Regions from separate parts of the Homo sapiens genome. Here region 1 is linked to region 2. Evidence: promoter capture Hi-C in human tissues and cell types (Jung and others, 2019). All regions are on one chromosome and are shown on one strand. Each heading gives the region's core, a stretch centred on a gene start or on the middle of the fragment in contact. The rest is flanking DNA. Distances are from core to core; before and after follow the strand shown.

Region 1 (5,212 bases), core at 907-3,406, 390 kb before region 2:
TCTCGATCTCCTGACCTCGTGATCCGCCTGTCTCGGCCTCTCAAAGTGCTGGGATTACAGGCGTGAGGCACCGCGCCTGACCTTCAGCAATGTTTTGTAGTTTTCAATGTACAAGTCTTTTGCCTCCTTGGTTAAGTTTGTTTCTTTTTTTTTTTTCCTTTTTTTTTTTTTTTTTTTTTTGAGACAGAGTCTTGCTCTGTCGCCCAGGCTGGAGTGCAGTGGCATGATCTTGGCTCACTGCAGCCTCCGCCTCCCGGTTCAAGTGATTCTCCTGGCTCAGCCTCCTGAGTAGCTGGGACTACAGGCATGCGCCACCACGCCCAGCTAATTTTTGTATTTTTAGTAGAGATGGGGTTTCACCATGTTAGCCAGGCTGGTCTCAAACTCCTGAACTCAAGTGATCTGCCTGCCTCAGCCTCCCGGAGTGCTGGGATTATTATAGGCATGAGCCATCGTGCCTGGCTGGTTAAGTTTATTTCTAAGTATGTTATTTTTTTTGAATACTGTTGTAAATAAGATTGTTTTCTTAATATCCTTTTCTCTTAGTCCATATAAAAATCTTCATTTACAAATGAGGAAACAGAGACTCAGAATCACAGGATGAGCTTAGTGGTTGAACCAGGATCTGACCCAGCTCTCGCCCTACCAGGCGGGAGTCAGATGGATACAGAGCAGGTCATGCCATCCCTTTGTCGCATTCCCTTCCCAGCTTTGAGGAACAAAGGTAAAAGCAGGGCCCCAGGTCAAAGGCATCTCTTCCTGGGGCCTCACAGCATCTGGAGCTCCCATTCTCAGGCTGTAAGACAGGTCTGTGAGTGGACAAGCTGGCCAAGGAGCAGTTTGCTTCTAGCAGGGGACACAGCTTGTTCTAGGAGAGTCAGAATGAACCTTGGAGTTCAAAATCCCAAGTCTGCCACTTCCCCGCTGTGTGACTATGGACAAATCTATTTTCTTCTCTAGTCTCACTTTTTACCCCTAGAAAATTAGGTATCTTGTAAAACCAGCCTCACGAAGATGATCTGAGGAGGAAATATGATCATAGGCAAGATGTACTGTATACCAGTAAATGGTGCCCAGTGTCTTGAAATTAGGGGGGCTCCAGCCTCATGATCCCCACAGAGCAAGGAGTACTTGGATCCAAGAGAGTGTGCCCACTTGGAATGTGGTGTTCCCCCGCCTTCACCACTTCTAGTCCTTGCCCTGTTGGTGAATGCACCCTCAGGCCTGCGGGGCTGCAAGGAACTGCTGGTGCAGGAGCTGTGGATGAACTTGGATGTATCTTATTTATAGCTTATAAATATTTAGAATTTTGTACTTTTGACCTCAACTGGCCCCACAAATGTTAAGAGCTAGCAGGACTGGTGAACCCAACTTCCCAACCCACAATCTGGCCTGGGAAATCAACCAGCACATACCTCCTTCTGTCCATCTCCCGATGGTCCCTCCTCTCTGGCTGTCCAGCTATGGATGAGAACCCCTTCTCCAGGTTCCCTAGGGACTGGGAATGTTTCCAGCAGGGATGAGGGCCGAATGCTGCACAGGGAAAAGGGTACCAGATCCAGACAGCAGAATTCTTCTGTCTCATGAATATTTATGGCCTCTCTACCCCACCCCCAGCTGAAGGCTGTGCCTGGGCCAGCTGCCCAGCCTCGATCCATCAGGGAACTGTGCCCATGTGTTAAACTGAGTGGTCTGAGCCTCTTCTTTTCTTTCCAAATGTTCATCCTCTTCCTGAGCTGTTGAAAGCTTTGTTGCCATTAGCTGGAGGCTCTATCTGGAGCTGGCAGGAAAGCCAGTGTGTAGGTCAAAGCCCCTAGGTCAATGTTGGCCCACAGTCCCCTCCCCTGGCTCCAAGCAGCTGGGCCAGTGGGGAGAGGGAGGCTTGGTCATTTGTGGCTCAGGTCCTGTTCCAGCCACTTTGCATACTTATCTTTGAAACCATTGTTAGGATTGTAAGATTTTGCAAATGAAGACATTGAAGGTTAGAGAGGCGAGGTCACTTGCCCCAGGTCATACAGCAAGTAAATGGTAAGCCAGGTATGAACCTGTAGACCTTTCTGACTCCAGAGACCTTGTTCTCCCTAACCCACTCCACCCCAGTACAGCTCCCCTGGGGAGACTGTGCACACTTCCTTTGTGCCGGGGATTTCGGAGCCATCATCAGGGCATGGCCACTCATCCATTCATTCCTCGGTGCCCGACACTGGGATTGAAGAGATGAAAAAGATCTAGTCCCTGCCCTCAGGAAGTGCCCAGTCTGACAAGGAAACAGCCACAGAAATTAATACTTAAAACATACTGTATCAGGTGCTAGACTGAGGAATGCGCCCAGTGCATAGGGACCCAGAGAAGAAGGCAACTCATTTTGCCTGTGGCGATCAGGGAAGGCATCCCAGAGGAAGTGCTTTTTCAGATTAGGTCTTAAGATGAGTAAGATTTTTCTAGGTAAAGCAATAGGCAAAAGCAGGCTGCTGGAAAGGCAAAGAGATTTGAGGAAAAATGGAGTTTTTAGGGAAGCAGCGAGAAATTCAGTGCAGCAAGAGTAGAAAATGAGTAGCGGGGAATGGTGGAAAATAAGATGGGAAAGGAGCTTAGACTTGATCCTGGGCCAGGGGAGCCACGGAAGATGTTAGCCCAGGCAAGTGTGTGGCTGGCAGTTGTTGGGGTACAACATGTCTCAGATTTCGGTGCGTGCACGAATCGCCTGGGAATCTTATTAACATATGGAGTCTTTTTTTTTTTTTTTTTTTTTTTGGAGACAAAGTCTCGCTCTGTCGCCCAGGCTGGAGTGCAGTGGTGTGATCTTGGCTCACTGCAACCTCTGTCTCCTGGGTTCAAGCAATTATTCTCCTGCCTCAGCCTCCAGAGTAGCTGGGATTACAGGCACCCACCACCATGCCTGGCTAATTTTTGTAGTTTTATTAGAGAGGGGGTTTCATTATGTTGGTCAGGCTGGTCTCGAACTCCTGACCTCAAGTGATCCACCTGCCTCAGCCTCCCAAACTGCTGGGATGACAGGCGTGAGCCACCATGCCCGGCCAACATACAGATTCTGATACAGGAGATCTGGGGTGGGACCCAAGATTCTGCATTTCTAACAAGCTTGCAGGTGGTGCCAATGCTGCTCGTCCAAGGACCACAGTTTGAGTCCTGAGTTTGTAGAGGGCTCACTCTGCCTTGTGTGGCAGCTGCTCTGTCTGGGGAGTAGGCAATCCTGTCGGTTGCTGGGTGTTTGTTCACCTGACAAATGTTTACCAAACTTTTGCCCCAGCCAAGCTCCCTGAGTACAGGGGACGGGGAGAGGAATTGAAAATGCCACTTTCTGGTCCATGCCACCACCATCTCTGACCTCCAAAATGCTCTTGCTGTTTCCACGCTTGCTCCCTACCATCTATTCTCTACCTGACAGCTAGAGCGAGTCCGATCATGTTACTTGCCTGCTTAGCGACACTGAAGCAGCTCTCCGAGGCTCACAGAATAAAATCCCAACTCCTTACCATGGCTCAGGAGTGATCTGCAGCCAGGTGTCCTCTGATCACATCCCACTCTTCCCATTTCTCACTCCCCTAGGGCCACACCAACCTTTCAGTTTCTTGTTCCTACTTCAGAACATGATGAAATTATTCCCATTACAGGCCCTTTGCACATGATACTCTCTGGCTGGAATAATCCAGATCGTCCTCTTACTTGTTCCTTTTTTCTTTTTTAGAGTTCAGCCAGGGGTAGACACAGATTTTATAGGTTACTAAAGCTTATACAATTTGAAGGGCCCCCCTTTGAAGATACCAAATTACAAATATACAATTAGATACAGGGCCTAGGAGAGGGCCTTAAAGCTTAAGCTTCATTGACTTCATGGTAAAGCTGTCTGTGGTTTTGTTTGTATGTCACCTCCTCCAAGAAGCCTTTCCTGGTCATTCTACTTAAAACAGCCACCAGCTGGGTGCAGTGGCTCATGCCTGTAATCCTAGCACTTTGGGAGACTAAATCAGGCAGATCACTTGAGCTCAGGAGTTCAAGACCAACCTGGGCAACATAGTGAGACCTTGTCTCTATTTATTAAAAAATAAAAATAAAAAAAAAGCCATCTACCCTATCTTCATGTTACTATTTTTATTTCCTTCATTAAATTCATCACAATTTGAAATTATCTTATTTGTTGCTCCACTTATTTTTGACTGTTTCCCCCAACTAGAATGTAAGCTCCTCGAGAGCAGGAACTTTGTTTTGTTTCTGCAGTCTCCCCAACATAGTGCCCAACACCCAGAAGGATGTCAATAACTGTGAGGTGAATGCATGGACATTGTCTCTGCCTCTGGTTGGCAGAGAGGTCACATAGAGGCAATTTCAGTGGGATAAAGAGCTATGAGCTACGGAAGTCCAAAGAATGGGCACTTAACCAGACCGCGGGTGGAGCTGGGTGTGCAGGAGGCCAGGAGTCTTAGAAAGAGCTACTTGGAGGAAATGAGGTCTGAGCAATCTTAAAGAATGTTCTAGTAAACATCCAGACAATGACAAGGAAGGGAGGATTTCTTGGCAGAGGAAACAGCATGAATAAAGTAATGAAAGTGCAAGCTCTCAGGCCCAGAGGAGAATCAGCTGGTTACATTTTGGGTGATTTCAAGGGTTCTACTCATGCAAAGATACAGTGATAGGCACCAAGTTTGGGTTGGGGCCAAGGGAGTGGGAGTCACATGGGGGCCAGGAGCCTGGGATTGAACAGAAGGCAGCAGAAGTAGGAAGAGCCAGGATGACGGGTACTGGTGGCACCAACGGGTTTGAGTCAAGCAGGGACTCCACCAGCACTCCCCTTACTGATTCTGGTCCTGTATCTGGAAGGAGGAGGCCTACTCTTGCTGGGGCTCCTGTGGGGCCTGTGTGGACTGGGGAGGCTCTGAAGTCAGATAGACCCAAGTATACAATCTCCTAGGTTGGGTTCCTGGGAAGCCAACTTTGAAATAGAGATTAGCATGCAGGCACAATTTTCCTGGAATATTTTATTCTCGTGTGTGTGTGGGGGGTGGCGGGGGGAGGCAAGGTGGGGATGGGTGTAGAGATGAGGTCTTGCTATGTTGCCCAGGCTGGTCTTGAATTCCTGACCCATCCTCCTTCCTCAGTTTCCCCAAAGTGCTGGTATTACAGGCATGAGCCACCACACCTGGTCTTCCTGGAATTTTTTTTTTTTTTTTGAGATGAAGCCTTGCTGTGTTGC
Region 2 (5,765 bases), core at 146-2,645:
GCTAAAGTGGGAGAAGTGCTTGTGCCCAGGGGTTTGAGACCAGCCTGGCCAACATAGCAAGACTTCATCTCTACAAAAAAGAAAAATTTTTAAAAGTTTAAAAACGAAAGCAAAGTGACACTCTTTAAAATATAGAATATAATTGTAATTCAGGACTAACTAGTTCTACCTATTAACAGAGTACGCCAAGCTCACAAAACAATAATAAACAACAAGGATGATGACCACCATTCTTTCCAAGTAAAGCTGCTGCTGATCTCCTGTTTATAAGGCTCCAAGATGATTTTCAAGCACAAGAAACACCCTGTATTTGACTCATTCAGCTACAGTTTCACTCAGACCCTAATGGGGAGGAGGGAGTTTTAAGACAAGCAATAGCATTCTGAATTCCACCAACAACTCTACCATGCCTTACTTGCTATGTGGTTGTGGCTAAGTGTCTTAGCTTCCCTGTGTACCAGATTTGTTCAAGAGCAGCTAAGTAGGGAAGGAAAACAAAAGCCTCATCTGCCTGAAATCCAAAAATACACCCCAATTATTTGTTACAAAAGACAAAATAATGTAAATTGAAATGCTGTTGGTGAATTCTCTTTATTAAAATGAAGTCATCCCACCTTTCAAATACCAGTCATTGTGTCTGATTTCCGAATTCATTACAGGAAGAACTGTGTATGAAGTCACCCAAACACATGCACTCTCCACTTCCCTTAATTGAAAGTTGCTGATTTCCGAGGAGCCAGGGGCTGAGCAGAATGTAAACCTAAAGGCTAAATCAGTAAACAACCCCATCCAAACTGGTCTAAGAGGAAAGCGAGGTGGGTGGGGAGGAAGGTGGGTGACAGGAGAAACTCGGCTGACCACTGCGCCAAGTCAACGCACTCACAGCTCTCGAGGTGACACACACTCCCCTTCCCACCCTCGGGCTGTCAAGTCGGCTGTTTTGGTCCCAGCACCGTGGGGGCAGAACTCCAGAGAAGCAGCTCAAGCTTCAGCTGGGGCCGGGGACCCTCGGGCAACCCGGGCCTGACAGATTGGGGGATGGCAGCCCACCGCCCCCAGGGTGGACAGCCCGAGACAGCCCCAGGTGTGGCCTCGGCCGTAGCCCCAGCCGGGCCCTGCGTCCCGGCAGCCTCACCCAGGCCTGTCCCCGGGACAGCTCCCGCCCCCCAGCTCGGTACCCCGGCTCACTGGCTTGGCTGATCCGCTGGATGTTGCCGCTGCACGTCTGGATGATGCTGCTGAAGTCCCGGAGCTGGGGCCCCGAGGGCCCCGGGTTCCGGTACATGTCTAAGGGACCGTATGACATGACGAGGAGCTGAGACCTGCTCGCTCTACACCGCTCTCCTACCGGAAGCAGCCGCCAGCCGGGACCCGCAGGCTGACGGAGAAACTGGGAAGAGCAAGGGCGGGGAAGGAGCTAAGGCTGCGTGCGCACTAGCCCCGCCCTCACGCGGCGCGCACGCGTCCTCCCCGCCCCGGTCCAAAGTGCGCAGGCGCCGCTGGGACTGGAGCTGGGACTGGAGCTGGGACTGTAGCTTAGAGACAGGACTCCCCGAGGCTTGGGGATGCAGGGCGGGGAGATGACGTCACCTAGTTGGGGCTGAGATTGGATGAGCTTGGGTGGAGGTGTTGTTTCTCGCCAGGGCACAGTGACAAGAGGCAAGAATTTTCGATTTGCATAAAACTGTACCAGATGATCTCAGCCCTTACATCCTATTCTGTTCTGAGAATTCAGGCCCAAATATGGGAGAATTCAACGTTGAAACTCAGACCCGGAACCAAATCGTAACCCGAAATTCCTCTCTACTTCCATCCCCAGGGCTTTGGTAGTGTTTGGGGTTTCCAAACCACTTTCATTTCTCCCTCCACCCCTCTTCTAATCTAAACAATAAAATAATGTTTATTGAGCACATACTATGTGAATCCTCACCGCAATTCACTTGTTCATAAGATTTTTCACAGCAGGGGACGATGCTCTATCTATATTTTTATCATTAGAATAGATAACGGAGAGTCGGTTTTTTAAATGTTGAAGTAAAGTAATTCATCAAAGTAAGCATTATTATTTTCCCTCTTACCGATGAGAAAATTAAGACCAGCGAGGTTAGTTCGCCTTGCTGAAATTTGACTGCAAAACCCAAACGCTAAGCTGACTCTCTCCTCACCTCGCTACTTCTCTAAAATTCATTCTCGTCTAAATCTCTCCCAAATAGCTCGTTCATCTATATCCCAAGCCGGGATATCTTGGAGAACTAGATTCCTAAAATTTAAAAATCGTTCCCTTAAGTAATTTGGAATGCATGACCTCAATGTTCCCACAGAAAACTGCATTTTTGTAAGCCTATGTTAAAAGGAAAGACATAGGATTTTGGTTTGGGAGGAGATCAAGATAGTGAGAAGTGAAGGGGAACTGGCTGCGTTTCCTGTGTTCTACACCCCACCCCACCCCACCCCAGCCTGCTTTGTAGTCTTTGGAAAATGCAAAGACAGAAAGCTGCTTGCCTGGATGAAAGGAGACCCAAAGTGAATGAGCCTGTATATGGCCTTAGGATTTTTTCTTTATTTTATTTTTTTTGAGACAGGGTCCCGCTCTGTCACGCAGGTTGGAGTGCAGTGGCGCGATCTCTGCTCACTGCATCCTCCTTCTCCTGGGCTCAGGAGGTCCTACCACCTAACCTCTGAGTAGCTAGGATTACAGGCGTGCGCCACCACGCCCAGCTAATTTTTATATTTTTTGTAGTGTTGGGGTTTGGCCATGTTGTCCAGGCTGGTCTCAAACTCCTGGGCTCAAGCAATCCACCCACCAGCCTTAGGATTTTTTAAGGGTGACTATCTCTATTTTTCGTTGGAGAATTTATGAGAGCATTTTTTTTCCCTGTCTCTAGAAAGAGACGGATGACATTTGGGGACTCTTATTTTGGTTATTTTATTTTATTTTATTTTTGAGACAGAATCTTGCTCTGTTGCCCAGGCTGGAGTGCAATGGCGCAATCTCGGCTCAATGCAACCTCCGCCTCCTGGGTTCAAGCGATTCTCCTGCCTCAGCCTCCCGAGTAGCTGGGATTACAGGCGTGTACCACCACGCCCGGGTACTTTTTGTATTTTTAGTAGAGATGGGGTTTGACCATGTTGGCCAGGCTGGTCTCGAACTCCTGACCTCAGGTGATCCACCCGCCTCGGCTTCCCAAAGTGTTGGGATTACAGGCGTGAGCCACCGCACCCAGCCTGTTTTGGTTATTATTATAAAACCTTACCGTTTCTTAGAATCTGTAGTTTTATGTCAAATCTTAAGCAAGTCATGTAAATTGCACTTTTTTACCTATATAATAGTACTGATGATTTTTTTCATTTACATTTGACACTATTTAAAGTGAAGTTCAGTAAAGATATTTTTCTTTTAGGAATTAAAAATATTGTTTTCTTTCTCCATGTAAAATAAAAGTGGTTTTTAGGCTGGGCGCGGTGGCTCACAACTGGAATTCCAGCACTTTGGGAGGCTGAGGCAGGCTGATCATTGCTTGAGCTCAGGAGTTCGAGACCAGCCTGGGCAAAATGGCAAAACCCTATCTCTACCAAAAATACAAAAATTAGCTGGGCATAGTGGCCTGAGCCTGTAGTCCCAGCTACTCGGGAGGCTGAGGCAGGAGTGTAGCTTAAGCCAGGGAGGCAGAGGTTGCAGTGAGCATCTCTCATAGCAGTAAATCTGTGCCTTGCAAATACTGGATGTCAAACAAACATTTATTGAATTAACACATGAATAATAAAAATAATAATTTTATCATTGCTTAAATGCCTGTTAGGTGCCAGGCAGTATGAACACATTTTGTGTACGTTATCAGTAATCTCCAAGATAAAGCCCATCTGATAAAGACCACCTGTAGTCAGACAAAGTTAAGTTTATTAACTTGCTGCTGCAAGGGAAACTGCACACCAAAAGAATCATGGAGCATGTCACAAAACACAGGAAGACAGTGAGTTATTCCAGGATTTGGGGGAAAGAAATGTAGATAAATTTTTAAAGAAGCAGTGTTTTGATAGCCCCCAAACACACCAGGCTATGTGTAAAGGGATTATCATCAGGCCCCAGCTAACAAGATCCTGTTTCCTTGGAAACCATGATGCCAAGATAAATGTGGAATGTTGTGTCTGGAAACCCCTTATCTGAAGCTCTGCACCTGCGTTAGAAATTGAGGCTGCTCTTCTGCATCAAAGTAACTGATCCTCCAGGTAAGAGTGATATATTCCATTCTTACTGATAATTTGAGCAACAAATTTTCTAAAAATCTATGGCTTTAGAGAAAATGTCTCTCAGCTCTACATACTTTTGTTAATTAACGAAAGTAGTCTTCATGGGTTTGCACCCATCAAGGCGATATTAGCTCCTTGGTACGGATAAAGAAACTAGAGATTCTGGGTACTTGCCTAATGTCATACAGCTGTTAAGTGACAGAGCCAGGATTCCCATGCACCTTCTGACCCAGCAATTCTACTCCTAACTATATACCCAACTATGCGTGTTCCAAAAATCAGGTATAGTTCATAGGAGCATTTTTAGGACCAAGCAGCATTTTTCTATACTTATTTACTTTTTGTTTTTTTTTTTCGGAGACAGGCTGGAGTGCAGTGGCGTGATCTCGACTCACTGCAGCCTCAATCTCCCTGGCTCAAGCCATCTTCCTACCTCAGGCCTCCAAGTAGCTGGGACTACAGGCACGCACCACCACACCTGGCTAATTTTTGTATTTTTTTGTTGAGATGTGGTCTTGCCATGTTGCCCAGGCTGGTCTCAAACTCCTGGGCTCAAGCAATTCACCCACCTCGGCCTCCCAAAGTGCTGGGATTACAGGAGTGAGCTATGACACCCAGCCCTTACATTTAATTTTTATTGAGTTATAATTGATATACAATCGAATGCACAGATAGTAAGTGTTCAGCTCAATGGATTTTGACACTTGTACACATCCATGTAACTGCCACACCCAAATCAAGAGATAAAACATTTTTATCATCACCCCAGAAAGTTTCCTTGACTTATGCTCCTTTTTAATCCATTTCCCTCATCACTGGAAGTTACTTACTGATTTTTTTTTTTTTTTGAGATGGAGTCTCACTCTGTCGCCCAGGCTGGAGTGCAGTGGCACGATCTTGGCTCACTGCAACCTCCACCTCGTGATTCAAGCAATTCTCCTGCCTCATCCTCCCAAGTAGCTGTGAATATGGGCATGCGCCACCATGTCCAGCTAATTTGTTTTGTATTTTTAGTGGAGACAGGGTTTCACCATGTTAGTCAGGCTGGTCTCGAATGATCCACCCGCCTCGGCCTCTCAAATGATCCGCCTGGCTCAGCCTCTCAAAGTGCTGGGATTACAGGCATGAGCCACACTGCACCTGGACTTTACTTTCTGATTTTTGTCACTACAGATTAGCTTTGTCTGCTCTTGGACTTCATACTTTATATATTCTTTAGTGTTTGGCTTTTTTCAATTAACACAATGTTTTTGAGATTTATCCATGATGTCACATATATCAGTAGTTTGGTCTTTTTTTATTACTCATTAGTATTTCCTCATATAAATATACTTACAGTTTGATTATCCATTCTCTTATTGATGGATGTTTGCATTGTTTCCAATTTGGTGTTATTATGAAGTTCATAGCAGTATTTATTTTTACTAGTTCCAAACTGTAAACAACTCGAATATCCATCAACAGAGGTTTGTATAAACAGATATTATAAAGCACAAAAATAAATGGCCTACTGCTGT

The links. The method cuts DNA at HindIII sites, captures the fragments that hold promoters and counts their contacts. A contact is called where the count stands out against the background at its distance.
Region 1: a contact is called between a fragment that was not itself captured here and the fragment with the promoter of STX12 in region 2, in 1 of the 25 tissues and cell types used here (mesenchymal stem cells).

The regions. Positions count from the first base shown.
Region 1 is chr1:28,160,372-28,165,583 of GRCh38, reverse strand. The region is part of intron 1 of PTAFR (platelet activating factor receptor); the gene reads left to right. Among named protein-coding and RNA genes, the nearest start is that of PTAFR, 14 kb to the left of the region's middle. The HindIII fragment of the contact is 3,366 bases long and covers 474-3,839 here.
Region 2 is chr1:27,768,849-27,774,613 of GRCh38, reverse strand. STX12 (syntaxin 12) reads right to left here and starts at 1,395. Exons shown (of 9, transcript NM_177424.3): 1 at 1,189-1,395. The coding sequence starts at 1,306. RefSeq lists enhancers at 558-1,058, 1,256-1,405, 1,059-1,559, 1,526-1,675 and a silencer at 936-1,145. The HindIII fragment of the contact is 12,641 bases long and covers 1-5,765 here.